4 separate regions of the Homo sapiens genome follow, and regions 1, 2 and 3 are each linked to region 4. Evidence: promoter capture Hi-C in human tissues and cell types (Jung and others, 2019). All regions are on one chromosome and are shown on one strand. The core of a region is centred on a gene start or on the middle of the fragment in contact, and the rest is flanking DNA. Distances in the headings are between cores, read along the strand shown. Region 1 holds the start of CLN6 (CLN6 transmembrane ER protein). Region 2 overlaps PIAS1 (protein inhibitor of activated STAT 1). Region 3 holds the start of CALML4 (calmodulin like 4). Region 4 holds the start of MAP2K5 (mitogen-activated protein kinase kinase 5).

The links. The method cuts DNA at HindIII sites, captures the fragments that hold promoters and counts their contacts. A contact is called where the count stands out against the background at its distance.
Region 1: a contact is called between a fragment that was not itself captured here and the fragment with the promoter of MAP2K5 in region 4, in 1 of the 25 tissues and cell types used here (dorsolateral prefrontal cortex).
Region 2: a fragment that was not itself captured here is called in contact with the fragment with the promoter of MAP2K5 in region 4 in 1 of the 25 tissues and cell types used here (lymphoblastoid cells).
Region 3: the fragment with the promoter of CALML4 here is called in contact with the fragment with the promoter of MAP2K5 in region 4 in 2 of the 25 tissues and cell types used here (adrenal gland and dorsolateral prefrontal cortex).

The regions. Positions count from the first base shown.
Region 1 is chr15:68,229,544-68,233,608 of GRCh38, reverse strand. CLN6 (CLN6 transmembrane ER protein) reads left to right here and starts at 3,881. Exons shown (of 7, transcript NM_017882.3): 1 at 3,881-4,065. The coding sequence starts at 4,025. RefSeq lists an enhancer at 3,137-3,186 and silencers at 3,838-4,017, 3,787-4,065. The HindIII fragment of the contact is 2,814 bases long and covers 1-2,775 here.
Region 2 is chr15:68,120,818-68,124,639 of GRCh38, reverse strand. The region is part of intron 2 of PIAS1 (protein inhibitor of activated STAT 1); the gene reads right to left. Among named protein-coding and RNA genes, the nearest start is that of PIAS1, 68 kb to the right of the region's middle. The HindIII fragment of the contact is 4,758 bases long and covers 1-3,822 here.
Region 3 is chr15:68,203,190-68,207,197 of GRCh38, reverse strand. CALML4 (calmodulin like 4) reads left to right here and starts at 1,866. Exons shown (of 5, transcript NM_033429.3): 1 at 1,866-1,953; 2 at 2,047-2,077. The coding sequence starts at 1,951. It overlaps CLN6 (CLN6 transmembrane ER protein), which reads left to right. Exons shown (of 7, transcript NM_017882.3): 7 at 1-206. RefSeq lists an enhancer at 873-1,167. The HindIII fragment of the contact is 22,474 bases long and covers 1-4,008 here.
Region 4 is chr15:67,540,631-67,544,734 of GRCh38, reverse strand. MAP2K5 (mitogen-activated protein kinase kinase 5) reads right to left here and starts at 2,032. Exons shown (of 22, transcript NM_145160.3): 1 at 1,265-2,032. The coding sequence starts at 1,399. It overlaps MAP2K5-DT (MAP2K5 divergent transcript), which reads left to right and starts at 2,105. Exons shown (of 1, transcript NR_186334.1): 1 at 2,105-3,667. RefSeq lists a silencer at 1,897-2,016 and enhancers at 2,890-2,939, 2,592-3,092. The HindIII fragment of the contact is 7,088 bases long and covers 1-3,124 here.

The DNA.
Region 1 (4,065 bases), core at 119-2,618, 690 kb before region 4:
TGGCAGGGCAGTGTGGGAAGATGTTTTGAAGAAAGAGAAATTTTCAAAAGCTCTTAAGAGACTGGATAGAAAGGGTACTGGATTAGGAGTGGAGACTGGATTCTGGCCTGGCTTGGCTTCTAACTCGCTGTGTGGCTTTAGGCTTCATTTTCCGCAGCTGCAGAATGATGAAATTAGGCAAGATCAAAGGCTTTCCAGGGAGCCCTTTGGAGGTGACTTGGCCACGGCCTTGTAACCATAAGGGGAGAAGAGATGGCACCTGGGACCCTGCTTCTCTTCACTCAGGGCACCACCCCCCCCACCCCCCCGTAGGTGTTTCATACATTGAGCATGCTGGAAAGATCTTTGTCTTAGCCCAGGTTTCCAAAGAAGCAGAGCAGGGCAGCATGTATGCTAACACTGTATTGGGGAGTGTGGTGGCTGGGAAGGGGAAGTGAGGACAAGGGGGAGTGAGACAGAGGAGAAGGGAGGGCACACAAGAGAGTGCACTGCGGAGCTGGCCACCACTCCGTCTGGAAGGATGCTAGACCTTACAGGACCTTCTTTATTATTTATTTATTTATTTTGAGACTGAGCCTTGCTCTGTCGCCCAGACTAGAGTGCAGTGGCGTGATCTCGGCTCACTGCAACCTCTGCCTCCTGGGTTCATGCAATTTCTCCTGCCTCAGCCTCCCAAGTAGCTGGGATTACAGGCACATGCCACGACACCCAGTTCGTTTTTGTATTTTTAGTAGAGACAGGGTTTCACCATGTTGGTCAGGCTGGTCTTGAACTCCTGACCTCACGTGGTCCACCCACCTTGGCCTCCCAACGTGCTGGGATTACAGGTGTGAGCCACTGCGCATGGCCCAGGACCTTCTTTAAAGTGGCTGTGTGAACTCGGAACTCAGGCCAGTCTGTCCAGAAAGAGGAAGAGAGAAAAATTTATTTGCTAATCCCTGTCTCTTGCTGGTCAAAGTTCACTCCATGGAGTGTCCAACACTCCTGCACTTCTGAGGCCAAGGGTGTGGGGCCAAGGGGAGAGGAGGTGCAGTTGACTTCTGCCTGGGTGAAGTCAGTTGTCACAGCAGCTGGACAAAACAAGTGGCAAGGAGCTGGAAGACTGGTGTGTCTAACGGATCTTAGGCGATACATTTAAAAGTATCTGATACAGGCCTGGTGCAGTGGCTCACGCCTGCAATCCCAGCACTTTGAGAGACTAAGGCGGGCAGATCACAAGGTCAGTAGATCAAGACCAGCCTGGCTAACATGGTGAAACCCCGTCTCTACTAAAAATATAAAAAATTAGCCAGGCGTGGTGGTGCATGCCTGTAGTCCCAGCTACTTGGGAGGGTGAGGCAGGAGAATCACTTGAACCAGGGAGGCAGAGGTTGCAGCAAGCCGAGATCGTGCCATTGCACTCCAGCCTGGGCGACAGAGCAAGACTCCGTCTCAAAAAAAAAAAAAAATATCGGATACAGCTATAATTGAAAAGTAGTGGGAACCTCTACTAAAAGAAAAGTCAAAACCACCAAGATGCATAATACCAAAGGACCTTCTCAGCTGAAAGATTTCTTGATGCTGGCCACTGAAATTGCAGCTCAGAGAGCTGAGACTAGACTCCCTTCTGATGTGCAGGGCCCATGTTCTCAGATAATCACAAACAAGATCCTGCAAATGTGTACCCCTCAGCTTTACTCTATCCTCCTCCCCCAAATTTCCATGCAATTTAAAGAGCTAATGAAGATGGTGTTTTTAAAGTGTCCTGGTGGGATGGGAAAGAGAGGGGGCTGATAATCCCACCGGACAGGGAGAATTCTCATCTTGTTCATTCAGAAAGGCCCAGCCCCCTGCCAGGTTGGACTCCCCTCCCCTCAAGGGGTAGCAGCGGACTCCAGAAAAAAGGCAGATGTGTTTGTATTTAAGAGATTGGAGGATTAAATGAGCTAGAGAGGCTCCCTCCACACGGCCTCATCCTCTGATGGCTGGAAGCCCACCTCTGAGTGTTATTAAATCGATGATGACATCATGGGCACTGCATGCCCCTCCCTCTGGAGCCCAGCAGGCTTGCAAAGCCTGCAGAGGATAAGAAATTGGGGTCAGAGCGGGAAGCCTCAATCCTTCTTCTCTGGTGTATACCGAGATCGATGTGTAGATCAGATTCACCAGAATTAAATCTGGGGCCCCGTCTGAGTGCTGTCCTTGGCTGACCCTTGGGCACAGTACTTCAGCTCAGGGCCTAGGTTTTTCTCTGCTACAAAACAGAGACAATCACCTGTTCTCCTTACGACCTGGTGTGTGTGGATCAAATGAAACAAGGAAAGCTTTAAAGCAAATGTGTTCTTCAGGGGACCAGGGGCGGAGGGGGGGGATTGAGGTGTGGCCTGTGGGCTGCTAGAGCCCAGGATGGGGCTGATGGAAAATGACTCCCAGGCAGGCAGTCCTAGCCTCCCACAGCCAAGAAAGGACATGCAGGTTCTGACCAAAGGGGAAAGAAATAAATCCAATAAACATCTCCCAAGAAGAAAGACAGGAAAGAAAATAGAATGGAAATAGGCATAGCTCAGACCCCTCATGGTCTGGGAAGCAGACCAAGGATACTGGGCAGGGGAATGGCACATTGCATTTGCATCTGAGGCACATCCCTTCCAAGAGGCACATCCCTTCTGCAGCGGCTTGAGGGCTGGGTGAGAGGAGACAGGACTGGAGACCTGCACATGTCGTGTGCGCCTGGTGTAGCACGGGGGTGGTGGGGAGAATGGGAGTTGGTTGCAGTTGTTCTAGTTAGCGGCCTGGGCTGCTGACAGTGACCGTGGGGAGGAGAGAGTTTGTGACATTGACAGTGGTGTGGAAGGTAACCTTTCTGTGGAGGGAAACCTCAGGTCTCGAGACGGGCTATTGTAAATAACTTAGTCCACCAGTGCTGGGCTCTCTGCTAAGAGTTTCATATAGTCATCACAACTCCAATGTAGTAGATGCAATAGGCATCTTCTTGTTACAGATGAGTAAACTGAAGCTGTGAGGGGTTGAGCCATTTGCCCGCATCACAGCTAGTTCAAAGTGGTACCACTAATGAAGTCCTGGCAATCTGCCCTGCAGGCTGTTCTCAGGTTTGACCTTTGGTTCTGTTTTTCACTTGAGGATGCTGTCCCCTTAGGTTCTGTCTGTCTTGTATGCTCCGGTGACTCACGAGCCTGTCCACTGGGTTCCCAGGTCTCGCCTCAGCTTCAGACCACCGGTCCAACAGCCTTCCTGACCCACCTCAAGCTTAATGCGTTCAAAGATGAATCTTTATTTACACGAAATCTGCTCTAGCCCACTTCCCGGGGGGTGCCTCCACTATCCACCCAGGGGCAGAATCCGGCCACTGCCTGAACTCTTCTCCCCTCACCCCCCACATCCAGAGTCCCAGTCACCATACCTCTCACACGACTCTAGATGTCACCAACTCGCTCCTTCCCACTGTCACCGCCAGCCCCTCACTAGAACATCTGCAACCCACGTGCTGCACCACGCGGGTGCTACACGTGCAGGTCTCCAGTCCTGCCTCCTCTCCTCCACCCGTAAGAACAAGGGAAATCCCACAGAACCCTCTGCCCCGGGGAGCATTTAAATCAGCTTAGTCTATCTCCAGGTCGCTACCCCGCCCCAGCCCAACACCCAGGCCTCAGTCACCCTAGACAGAGATTCCCGTACCCAGGCAGGCAAGGGACCCTAACACATCCCAGCCCGCTGGTGGTCACGCGCGCAGCCCGGACAGGCCAGCAGCCCCCGCCCCGCGAGGACGCCACACTCGCAGCGCCCGGCCCTCCCCTAGCGGAGCCCGCCCCGTCTCCCTCCGCCCCGCCTCCCTCCGCTCCGCTCCGCTCCGCTCCGCCCCGCCCCGGGTCCGCAGCCCCGCCTGTTCCTCCCGAGGGCCGCGCGCTCTCGCCGGCCCGCCCCGAACCGCCCCGCGCTGGGAATTTGCGGCGGCCTCCGCCGGGGCAGCCGAGCTGAACCGGTCTCTTCCTCGGAAAGGCAGGGCCGAGGGGCCTGCGGGGCAGCCATGGAGGCGACGCGGAGGCGGCAGCACCTGGGAGCGACGGG
Region 2 (3,822 bases), core at 663-3,162, 580 kb before region 4:
AAGAGATTCTCATGCCTCAGCCTCCCAAGTAGCTGGGATTACAGGCATGCACCACCACACCCGGCTAATTTTGTATTTTTAGTAGAGATGGGGTTTCACCATGTTGGCCAGACTGGTCTCAAGCTCCTGACCTTAAGTGATCCGCCAGCCTCGGCCTCCCAAAGTGCTGGGATTACAGGAGTGAACCACCACACCTGGCTGTTCATTTATAACTTTGAATGAAAAAAAAAAAACAAAAAACAACAACAAAAAAAACCACAACCCAAGAAATAGTGGAAGTCACGACTGTGGTAAATGGGCCAAAGAAAAAATATCTGTATGTCCACAGGATAAAGATGAGATCTTCCTAACTTCTGACTGTCTTTACAGGAAATGTTTTACTTCTTTACATAGTTATAGCCATCAGTAGTTGAAGAATGCAAGAGTAATACCCTGATTCAAATTCTCTGGAATACCCATGTTATTTTTTCATTTCAAAATAAAAATAACCTCCCACCATCATTATCAATAAAGATTACACAATTATAAAAATTCAGACAATACAGACACAGAGAGATAAAGGTATTACTAGCATATACTTTCTCAGATCTTTTTGTGCATGTGTATACATATGTACACACGTATGTGTACATATATGTATACGTGTGTGTGTGTGTATATTCACACATATGTATACATATACCTATATTTAGGTTTATATTATGTCCACATCTTTGTTGCCTGTGTTTTCCGCCTATAATTATGTTTGGACATGGTACAAATACAGATCAACATTATCATTTACAATGAAGCATAGCAGTAGTGAAGGTACATCTATTTTATCAATAAATGCCCTGAAGACAGAAATTATACAAGTTTCCTTTTATAAATAAGGTTTCTATAATATCACAGAATATACTTAATTAGGTACTACTCCTGTGAGTTCACTTACATTTCTAGATGTGGCTCTGAGTAATTTTAAATTAGTTTCTAAGCAAATTGTTTCCTATAGTGCAGACTCCTCCATGTTATTTAACATAAGGAAAAATAGTCTCCATGGTATTCCATGGAAAGATTTTTTTATATATAAGGCACTTTTTAGTACAACCATGTTGTTTCTTAATCTACTAACTTTAAAATTACTTTTCTAAAATAGATACATGACATATGCCAAGACTTATAGACAAGAAAATGAGACTAAGTAGTAGTTGCAATTTTAACATTTAAAAAATGCCCCAGAACAGTAAACTCATAACTTTGTGTGTCTCTGTGTGTAAGAGGGTATGTAGAATTGCATATAAGAATTTTGGGACAGGTGTGGTGGCTCACACCTGTAATCCCAGCACTCTGGGTGGCCAAGGCAGGAGGACTGCTTGACGCCAGGAGTTTGAGACCAGCCTGAGTAACACTACAAGACACTCTCTACAAAAAGTTTTAAAAATGTGCCAGGCATGGTGGCTCACACCAGTAGGTCCTAGCTACTTGGGAGGATAAGGCAGGAGGACCACTTTAGCCTAGGAGTTTGAGGTTGCAGTGAGCTACGCTTGTACCACTGCATTCCAGCCTGGGAGACAGAATGAGACCTTCTCTCTCAAAAAGAAAAAGAAAAAAATAAAAAGAATTTTGTATGTATAACACTCTGAGATTTAGGCTTAAAAAAAAAAAAACAGCTTTTACCTTACAAGAAATGTTTCCAAGCTTCTCAATTCTTGCAGATACTTCCCAAGAAAGAAAATAAAATTCTATTTTCTTAGGGTTCCTCTAGTTGGCTTATTTAGTTGGATGAGAAACTAAATGAAAGGGAATCACTGCAGATACTGCATTGCTAAGTTTTGAAAAAATAGTGACTATTACTCTTCCAAAAATGTATTTTGGGTATATATAATAAGCACAGTGCTGATCATATCACTTCTGTTTCAAAGATTTTCATTTGTTCCCCACTTTATGAAGAGAGTCTACTCATCTTGGTGTGGCAATCAAATTAAGCTAATAGCATTTCATTTTCTTCCTATAAAACCAACCAAAATAAAATGATTAAATAATTAAAAGAAATAGGATTTATAAAGTGTTTTAGAACCACTGTGAAAGGATTTTTTTCATTGTTATTTCCTAGCAGCAACTTACTAGCCTCTAGGATTGCATTTCACTTCATGAGTTCAGGTAAATCTCACATTATCCTTTTAGCTTGGCAGAGTTCTAAACCATCCAATAGTTGCCACCTAGGACTCCCTTGTCCTTATTCCTCCCTTCTGGCTCACAAGTGATTCTTCTAGGGCCTAACTCCCTTGAGAACTATAGTTTCAATTTCTTGTTCACCACAGTATTCAACGCTATGTTACCTGCGACTGTCAGATATAAGGGTTTTGTTTGTTTATTTTTTGTCTTTCTGGTGGAACTACAATGAAGTCAACTACCATATCAACTTGGCCATTTTCCCCTTTGATGCTTCCCCTGAGAATACTGTTTTCTAGCAACTTGCCCAAGTACTCTGAGATTATCCTTTGCCCTTAAAGTTTATTTGGTGTTTGTTTTGAGACAGGGTCTTGCTCTGTTACCCAGGCAGGAGTGCAGTGGCTCGATCTTGGCTCACTGCAACCTCCATCTTCCAGGCTCAAGTGATCCTCCTGCCTCAGCCTCCTAAGTAGCTGGGACTACAGGTGTGTGCCACCACATCTGGCTAATTTTTTGTATTTTTTGTAGAGACAGAGTTTCGCCATATCACCCAGGCTGGTCTCAAACACTTGGACTCAAGCAATCTGCCCGCCTTGGCCTCCCAAAGTGCTGGGATTACAGGTGTGAGCCACCATGCCCAGCCTCTTGAAGTTTTTTAGTGAGCTGTCCTCCAGGTCTATTCATTCCAAATACGTTCAATAGGGCTTCTTTGGATTTAAGTAGAGATGGCTGTAAAGAAATACTAACCTGAAGCTTAGAGAGAGGTCTGGGTAGAGATAAACAATTAGGAAATCTCTCATACAGAGAGCAGATTAAGTTATGGGAGTGAATGAGATGACCTGAGAATACCCTGTGGAATCAAAACACAACAGAATCCCTAGGACCACCAATATTTAAAGGTTAAGTAAGATAAGAGGTGGCCAGAAATACAGAAGAAAAAGCAAGAGAAGAGAGAATTTAAAAGAAATAGGAGTGCTGAGGCAGGGCAATCAATAAACCCTATGCACAAAAAAACAAGAATAAAGCAACACCAAAGCAAATCATAACCAAATTGCTTAAGACCCAGTGAAAACAAAATCTTCAAAGCAGCCAGAAGAAAAAAGACAAAGGAAATATATAGAACAGCATACAGATAACAGCAGATTTCTTGTCAAAAATAATGCAAGCAGAAAACAGAGTAAGAAGTGGAGTAAAATTTTTGAAGTGCCAAAAGAAAAAAAAAAAACAAAAAAACATGTCAACTGTTAACACTTTACTCAGCAAAAACATCTTACAAAAACAAAGGTAAAATAAAAACTCTGAGACATACAAAAGGTAAAAGAATTCACCACAGTCCTTACATTTTAAAGAAATGGTAAAGAAAGTCCTTCAAGGAATAGGAAAACAACACCAGATTAGAATCTGGATATACACAAAAGAATGAACAATATCAGAAATGGAAACAACATCGATAAATATAAAGAATTGTTTATTTAAGTATCCACAAAAGAGAACTGATTGTTTAAAGCAAAAATAACAACAACATACTGCAGTTTAAAACTTTTATAGAAGTAGGTCAGGCCCGGTGGCTCATGCCTGTAATCCCAGCACTTTGCGAGGCCGAGTCAGGAGTTCAAGACCAGCCTGGTCAACATGGTGAAAAGTTGTCTCTACTAAAAATACAAAAATTAG
Region 3 (4,008 bases), core at 617-3,116, 660 kb before region 4:
AGAGGCTTTGCCTTGACAGAGTGGCCCAGGGTTTCAAGGGAGGAGGAACCTCCCCCTACCTAGGACCCTTCCTGTGGGGGGTCTACAGAGTCAGGGACAGAAGGGAAGGGACCCACAGGAAGTCACAGTGGTGCCCAGGGATGTGTCAGCCCCCAGCCACGGGGACGCGGGATTCAAGAATGAAGTAAATACAGTCACAGCCCCAAGTGGTGTTAGAGGTGTTTTTTGTCTTTTCTCCCTTTCGTGCTGAGGTGTAGCACACACGGTGCGCCCTACAGCATGGTGAGTTGCTGTATCGTGAACCCTCACGCAGCCATTGCCCCACGCTGGTGTTTTCCATCTGTGCGTCACCCCCGGAGACACCTACACACATAAGGAGGGAGTTGGCCGGGGCACCCCAGCACACACTGGCCTAACTCCAAGGAGGCACCTCATCTCTTCTGGAGCCCCTTCCCACAGGCAAGGGGATTCAGAGGGAGCATGTTGGCCTGGCCGCCTTCAGGCTTCCAGAGTCCCAAGTGACTTTCCTTGATGTCCTTCTCTCCATCCTCTGCACAGAGGCAGCCTTCCCTCCTCTTATCCCTGCCATGGGGTTTGGGAGGGGGAGCCTCAAACTCTGACAGGGAGGAGTCGGAGTCCCCAGCTAAAATTCTCTGGGTCTAGAAACAGGTGTAAAGCGATTCTGGGGATGTGATTTGGGAGAAAAGCACACTTTCCACACAGAGGCGGTCAGGAAAGGAGCGGGGAGGGGAGAGTGGGGCACAGGCAGCGCCTCCCGTCTATGCGCCTGTGTGCAAAGTGGCACAATGCCCCCCTTCCTATTGGCAGTGCAGCCCCTGGCCAGCAACCACTCGCACCTGGGCTGGGGGCCTTTGTGTAGGGCACACCTGTGCAGCCACACCTACTTGTAGAGCCTCATAGACTCAGCTGTGGACAAAAGCCTCACGCCCCAAACAGGGAAATGGGATCTCAAGGGGAAGAAGCTGGGGAGGCCTCACACCCTGCCCCCATTTCCTCCTATGTGGGGGAGGGGAGCAGCACGAACTCCTGAAGACTTGGGAGCGTCAGCAGCTTCTGCGGAAGGGGTGGGGCTGAGGGTGGAGAGAGGAAGGGAAGGAAGAAAAGGGGAGCCTTCCTGGCCAGGGTAACCGGCACTAAGAGGCCTCACTCCAAGCCCCCGAGGAGCCTGTGGTGGGGCTGGAGACCCGGCTCAGGCCCCTCCACCACCCTTAAAGTCCTCAGAAGGTGGGAACTGAACTGGCACAGGATGGGAACCGGCTGTGCGCTGGCCACTTGATTTTGCCAGCTGCCCTGTAATTCAGCTGGTGAGGAAACTGAGGCACAGACTGAGGTAGAATGATTCGCCAGTCACTCAGCAAGTCAGCAGACGGGGAGGACTGAATCCCAGCCTGAGAGCACCGAAGCTTGTATCCCTGCAATACCGAGCCCCAAGCCTGCGAGCCCCGGTGCCCATCTCTGAGTTAGGCCGTCTTGGAAGGGTTCCCTTCCTCCTACAAGATGGTGTGTGAGGAGCCTTCAATACGACCCGGGGTGTAAAGTGTCCAACTCTAGTAGGGGCCTGATGGCATCCCCGCCGAGTCCCAGGAGAGAGAGAGAAGACCCCTTCCTGGAGTCCAGGGCTCCCGGGAAGAAACACTGGCATTTGTCCCTTTGCTTCGGCTTCTGGAGGCAGAGACTCTGAGCCCAGGGAGAGCCTTCTGCAGCCCCATTTCCTCAAAAATCCAACCTGCCCAGGTGGCGGGTCATGAGCTGTGCTCAGGAAGCTGGAATCTGACCCTGGTGGCGTCGGGCCCAGTCTCCATGGCAGCCGAGCATTTATTACCCGGGCCTCCACCCAGCTTGGCAGACTTTAGACTTGAGGCTGGAGGAAAGGGAACTGAACGCGGTTCTGGGAGCAGCAAGCCCACGGGTAGCAGCCGAGGCCCCAGAATGGTGAGTGTGAGGGTCTGTGTCGGCCTGGCCAGGGCTGGGGGCGTGAACCTCAGGTGGAGCCCTCCCCTGACTGTTTTCCTTTCTCTGCTGCAGGCCAAGTTTCTTTCCCAAGACCAAATTAATGGTAGGTTGGGTTTGTTCTTTGATTAGCAACTCAGCAAAATATGGGTCTCATTAGGCAATTTGCTCTGCTCATGTTTTCTTGGTGGGAAGGAAGGTGGCTGTGGGAGAGCTGGGCCCACCCAGGGCCAAGAGCTGCGGGGAGGCTGCTGTTGGCGGGGTGGGGGTTGGGGGTAAGCCTCCAAAATAGACATGTGGCTTTATACTTGTCAGTGTGACTTACAAGCCAGGGCGCTAAGACAGAACTTACTAGGTTTCCCTCCAGAACCTGACCAGTTGGATTTGGGGACTGAGGGGACTGGGGATGGAGAGAGAGACCATTAAAGGTATGGCTGGCAGCAGGGAAAGAGGAGGGGCTTTGTAATTGAGACAGAACAGAGGCCAGGTCTGCACTCTCTGGCAGGATGCGTCTACTCTCTGCGCCTCAGTCTCCCTATCTGTAAAATGGAGGGTCCACTGAGCCCCCTTTGCCCTGGCATCAAGCCTGGTTTGGGCGTGAGCACTTTATTCCCTGGGTCCCCTACTCTGCCAGCCCTCGACCAGGCTTCAGTTTCACACCGTGCAGGGTTCTATTTCCAGAAGGCCAAGAGCAAAGAGTTGCGTTACAAAGAACTTGGGGGCCCAGACCTGAGCCAGGGGAGCCTCATGGCTGCAGCCCCCCTGCACCTGGCAGGAGAGGCCCAGGAGGCACAGCCAGCTGCTGCTTGAGGTTGTGACCCTGAAACCTGTCCCAACAGTGGACGTCAATGGGCCTGAGAGTCCCCCGAGGCATCCCATTCCTCCAGGTCTTTGCTGAAACATCGCCTTCTCAGTGAGTCCTTCGCTGACCACTGGAGATAAAATTACAGGCACCTTGGGCCCTTGTGATCCAGGGTAGGGTCCTGAGAGCCCAGCCAAGTGGGGTTAGGGTTACCTGGGCAGGAGTTCCAGAGTTCTGGGTATTCTGAGCTTGGTCCAGAGGGGCAGGAATTGTGAGCTCCAGGTGGGCACCTCCACGTAGAACCCTGGAACTCTTTATCCCAAGAGGAGGGCCAGGGCAGGAGCAGGGACTTTTAAAACACAGGGCCCGGGGCAGTGCCCTCTTGTCCAGGTCTAACGGTGATAATGAATGGTGGACTGAGGGCTGGAGTCCAGCCTTCAGCCTCAGCATCCTCCCACCCATGCCTGGTTTTGAGGCTCACTGACCCTCCCTCCTGGGATAGCCAAAGCTCCCAGAAGGGAAGAAGGTAAATTGTCTTTGTATCCCAGTATCTGACACCAAGAAAGTGGCCACCAGTGTTTAATGAGTGTGTGAAAGACTGGATGGGGTGGCCTAGCGAAGTGGGAAGAACAGGGGCTTTGGAGGCAGCAGACCTGAAGCCTAATCACCCTTGAGCCTCGGTTTTCTCACCTATGAAGTAGGATATGCCACCTTACCAGGCTGCTGCGAGCCACGGACAGAGGGGAATAATGTCAGTTACATGCTGGACGCTGGGCCAGGCATAGCCAGGTGTCACCCACATGTGGGCTGGGGCTGGCTCACTACAGCTAGCAAGAGCCATAGTTTTAGGAATTTTGCAAGCAGGATGTTAAAGCCAGCCATTATTAAATAATGTAGGATCAAACAGTGTTTCAATCCCTACATCTATCTGTACAAAAAGTTAAAAAGACAGCCCTATTGTGATCAGTGGAGATGGAGATTTGAAAGAAGTTTCAATTTAATGAATGTGTTTGGTAAAAGGGTGAGAAATAGTTTAACAGTAGATCACATCAGGTTTAATGACCATTCATTCATTGGAAAAAGAATCGCACTCATTGGCGCGCAGCTTCATTTGTCAAATCATGGTTGAATCGAAACTATAGGTTGGCAATGGATATAAGAGTTGGCAAAACTTGGGCTGAGTGCAGTGGCTCACGTCTGTAATCCCAGCACTTTGGGAGGCCGAGGCATGTGGA
Region 4 (4,104 bases), core at 783-3,282:
CCCAAGATCCTGCCACCTTGCCCACTCTTAACTTGCAGGTAGTGATGTGCTTTTCGGAATGTCCGCTTCTGTCTTCCATGCCTCAGTTATTCTGCATGTAGAATGGGCACAAGGCACCCTGTCTATCTCAAATGAATACCAGAAAGATTAGAAGCGGCTGCAACATGTAGGGAAAGAAACCTACTAAGTCAATGAAACAAAATTTTAGTTCTGGTACTGACTCTCCCACTCAGGAGCTCACAGCTTTGGAAAAGCCATTTCACCTCACTGCTCCTCAGTAACTATCTGCAAAAAAGAAACATCAGCTGAACAGGCCACCTACAGTGTTACACTCTGCTCTAAAATTCCATCATTTTATTTGAAATATATTCTGAAAAATCTGAATGTAAAATATCACCAATTCTAAGATGCACATTTTCCCTTACTTTTACCGTCTCTGAAACTGGACTCATTTTAATAACGGATGATGTGTCATACTGTCATGGTTAGCATTTTTTTCTAAGTAAAATGTCTTACATTCAATGATGCTTTAAGTTTGCTCAGGCTGGGCACAGTAACTCACACCTGTAATCTCAGCACTTTGGGAAGGCCGAGGCAAGCAAATCGCAGGAGTTCAAGACCAGCCTGGGCAACATGGCAATACCTCGTCTCTACAAGATACAAAAATTATCCAGGTGTGATGGCATGTGCCAGCTACTTGGGAGGCTGAGGTAGGAGAATCGCTTGAGCCCAGGAGGCAGAGGCTGCAGTGAGCCGAGATCGTGCCACAGCACTGCAGCCTGAGCGACAGAGTGAGGCCCTGTCTCAAAATAAATTAATGAAACAGTGTGCTCAAACATGGTAAGTTAAAGTTGTCCTTTTTCCCTTTCTCAGCTGGTCACCAAGTTCAGAGAACTCAGTAGAAAAACAAGGCTGGAATCTGTCCAAGGACATTCCCCGAAACACTTGGGGGGAAAAAACCTCTCTTCTAGATTCAGCAGTTTGCATTTGCGTGGTTGTGTCTATATGTGTGTCCCAGCCCGGGCCATGAGCTCTCTGAGGGCAGGGGTTCAGTCAGATTGATCTATCTCCCCAGGGTCCTAGACATTTGCCAGGTTTTAGTGGTTGCAATTTATCAATGCTGTGCCTGAAGCAATAAAACTGCCTCCACAGGAAGCCAGCAGTAGCCATTGCCACTGGCTCAGGTCACCAGTGGTCAAGGTGCTGACTACTCAAGTCCCTGAGTCCCCCTTGCTGGCATCCGGACACTGAGATTACCACTCACCAGCACATCCCTGAAGAGTAACTGCGGCCCGGAGTGCACTGTCCAGTCCACCGCGCCACTATTTGGGATCTTGATGCGAATTACCAGCACCTGGTTCTCCATGGCAGGAAAGGGGCCAAGGGCTAGCCACAGCATTACAGGTTAAAGAGGCTCACATCCTGGGGTATGGGAAACCCACTGGCCGCTGGTTAGGAGGGGGCTCCAAGAGGTGACAAGGGGAGTGACGGGCAGAGGACAGAGGGTGAAAACAAGGGAATGGAGGATGAGGGGGAGGGAAGAGGGGAGGGGTGATCAGGAACGCACCCGCAGGCACCGAGCCTGCCCAGGCTGTCGGGGGTCTGAGGTGTCTCCCGGGGAGGGTGCACCGGGAAGCGGGCAAAGGCCCGCAGGAACTAGCGGAGGTCGGAAGGTTCTGGAGTTGAGCGAACGCTATGGTGAAGGTCTCTGCCGCCGTGTGGGTATGAGGAGGCAGCAGGGCAAGGACTCGGTTTGGGGGAGATACAGCGGCAGGTGTCCACCGCTCGTCAGTGGACTAGGAGAGGGTCCTCGACTGGAGGGGACTCAGTCCGGGGCTATTAAGAAAGAGCCCCAGGGCCGCCACACCACGGAGAGTCCCCGCGGGAGGTTCAAGGGGCGAGTCTTCTGCCCCACCCGGAGACACAGGGCGCGGCGCGCGCAGGCTGAGCTCCGGCCACCCGAGGCCGCGCGGACTGGCGGCGGCTGCGGCGGCGGCGACGGCGGTAGCGGCGAGAGGAGGAGGAGGAAGGCGGCGGCGACACTGTTACTCCGGAACCAAAACGCGCGGCGCCGGAACCCCGGGAGCCGACGAGCGGGACCCGCCTCCCGCGGCGCCATGTTGGAAAAGGGCAGCAGCTCCCGGGAGGATGCGCCCCCGGCGTGGGAAGCCGAGGAACCGGCGCGCGGCGCGCGGCGCGTGGCGCGTGGCGAGTCGGGGAGAGACTGGTCTTGCTCGCTCAGGAGACCCTCATCGCCCACAGAGCGCCCGCGGCGACCCGGTCACGGCCCTTCCATTTCCTGACCCTGCTTAATGACAGCGAGGTGAAAACATCTACCAAACGAAGGGTAAAAGGCTGGAGTCCGCCAAAAGCCAATTTAAGGCTTAACATTGCAGACCGTTTGTCTTTACAAAAGCTTCAAAGACGGGGCTGCAGCTCCCGGTTATCCCCACTTTGTCAAGCCATGAATCTGAATGTTCGTGGGGTTGTGTGCATCGAATCAGCAAGAGCAAGGCAAGAATTCAAGAAATAGTTCTTTTTTATCCCCCCTTCCAAGTCACAGGTTCAGAGGATCATCATCTTTCTCCCACATTAGCAAAACATATTTGCATTTTTCAGTGAAGTTCTTTACCGCACGAGTGCCCTAAAATAGCAAACAGTTCCCTGTTCAAAAGCAATAGTAAAGAAATTCGCCGAAGAGTTTAATTGCCTGGGGACAGCTGCAGTAGTCGCATCATCGTCTCTTATTAAACTGTTGCAGAAATATTCGGTCTAGTCCATGTATTTTCAACTAAATAGCACTGCTTACGCAGTTGGTGATATGGTGATATCACGGAAGTAGCAATAAACCTTGGTTATCTTTTTTTTTTTTTTTTTTGAGACGGAGTCTCGCTCCGTCGCCCAGGCTGGAGTGCAACGGCGCGACCTCTACTCACCACAACCTCAGCCTCCCGGATTCAAGCGATTCTCCTGCCTCAGCACTACCACCCCCACCAGCCCCCAACCCCTGCCGAGTAACTGGGACTACAGGCGTGCGCCATCCGTGCCCGCTCATTTTTGTATTTTCAGTAGAGACTGGGTTTCACTATGTTGGCCAGGCTGGTCTCAAACTCCTGACCTCGTGATCCGCCCACCTCAGCCTCCCAAAGTGCTGGGGGGATTACAGGTGTGAGCCACCGCGCCCGGCCAACCTTGGTTATCTTCAAATGCCTTGTTACCTCAGATTTTAAAGTGCATAAGGTTGTAGAACGATGGTGCCTCTACAGAAGTTTCTTTACAAATTGTAATGTGTAGGTTCGTCCTTTATTTCTTTCTTATGAAGGTGCACGAATTGGCTTTACTTTCTGGGGTTGAATTTTGTATAAACTCGGTTGAGGAGGCTTGTCAGTTTCCCTTCTAACAGTAAGGTGCTTGATTAATGTGAGAGAAAAAAATTAATGTTGGTCATTTTCAGTTACAATACCAAAATTTTTTCTGCATACTTTACTCTGAGTTACTTTTATATTTAATTTGAAAGGCCATTGTAGGAGATAAATTATCACATTTTAAGTTACTGTAAATCAATAGCTTAGGTAGAAATTCATTTAGTCAGATCCTTCAGATATTCTAGGAATTTCCCCTTTTCACCTGCACTTCACTTCTGTGAAAAATAAACCGTTCATCAAAAGTCCTCATGTACTTTTATTAAAAGTTCATTTCCTATTATTTTAGAAAATAGACCACGAAACTAGAGATTTTCTATGAACCTGTGATTTGTTAAAATGTCTCTTTTATTCGAAGTACCGTGGGGAAAACCAACTCAATTTGCCAAATTTGCATACATATTCTGAAGCTTTTCTTACACTAATGGCAAACTCATATTTCTGTTCCAATATTTGCAGAGCCAATATAATTACACGTCAGCTCTTCATAGCCTTTATGTAGTAAGAAATCTTAACTTTGATGATTTGAGCAAGGATTTTTCCAGAAAGTTATAACTCTCATTGCGAGAAGCATCATAATCACTGATAATACATTCCACTTGATATCATAAATGACAAAATATAACTTTCTGATCTTTACCAAATTGAATACTGTCTAAATTTAAGGAATATTTAGTATTTA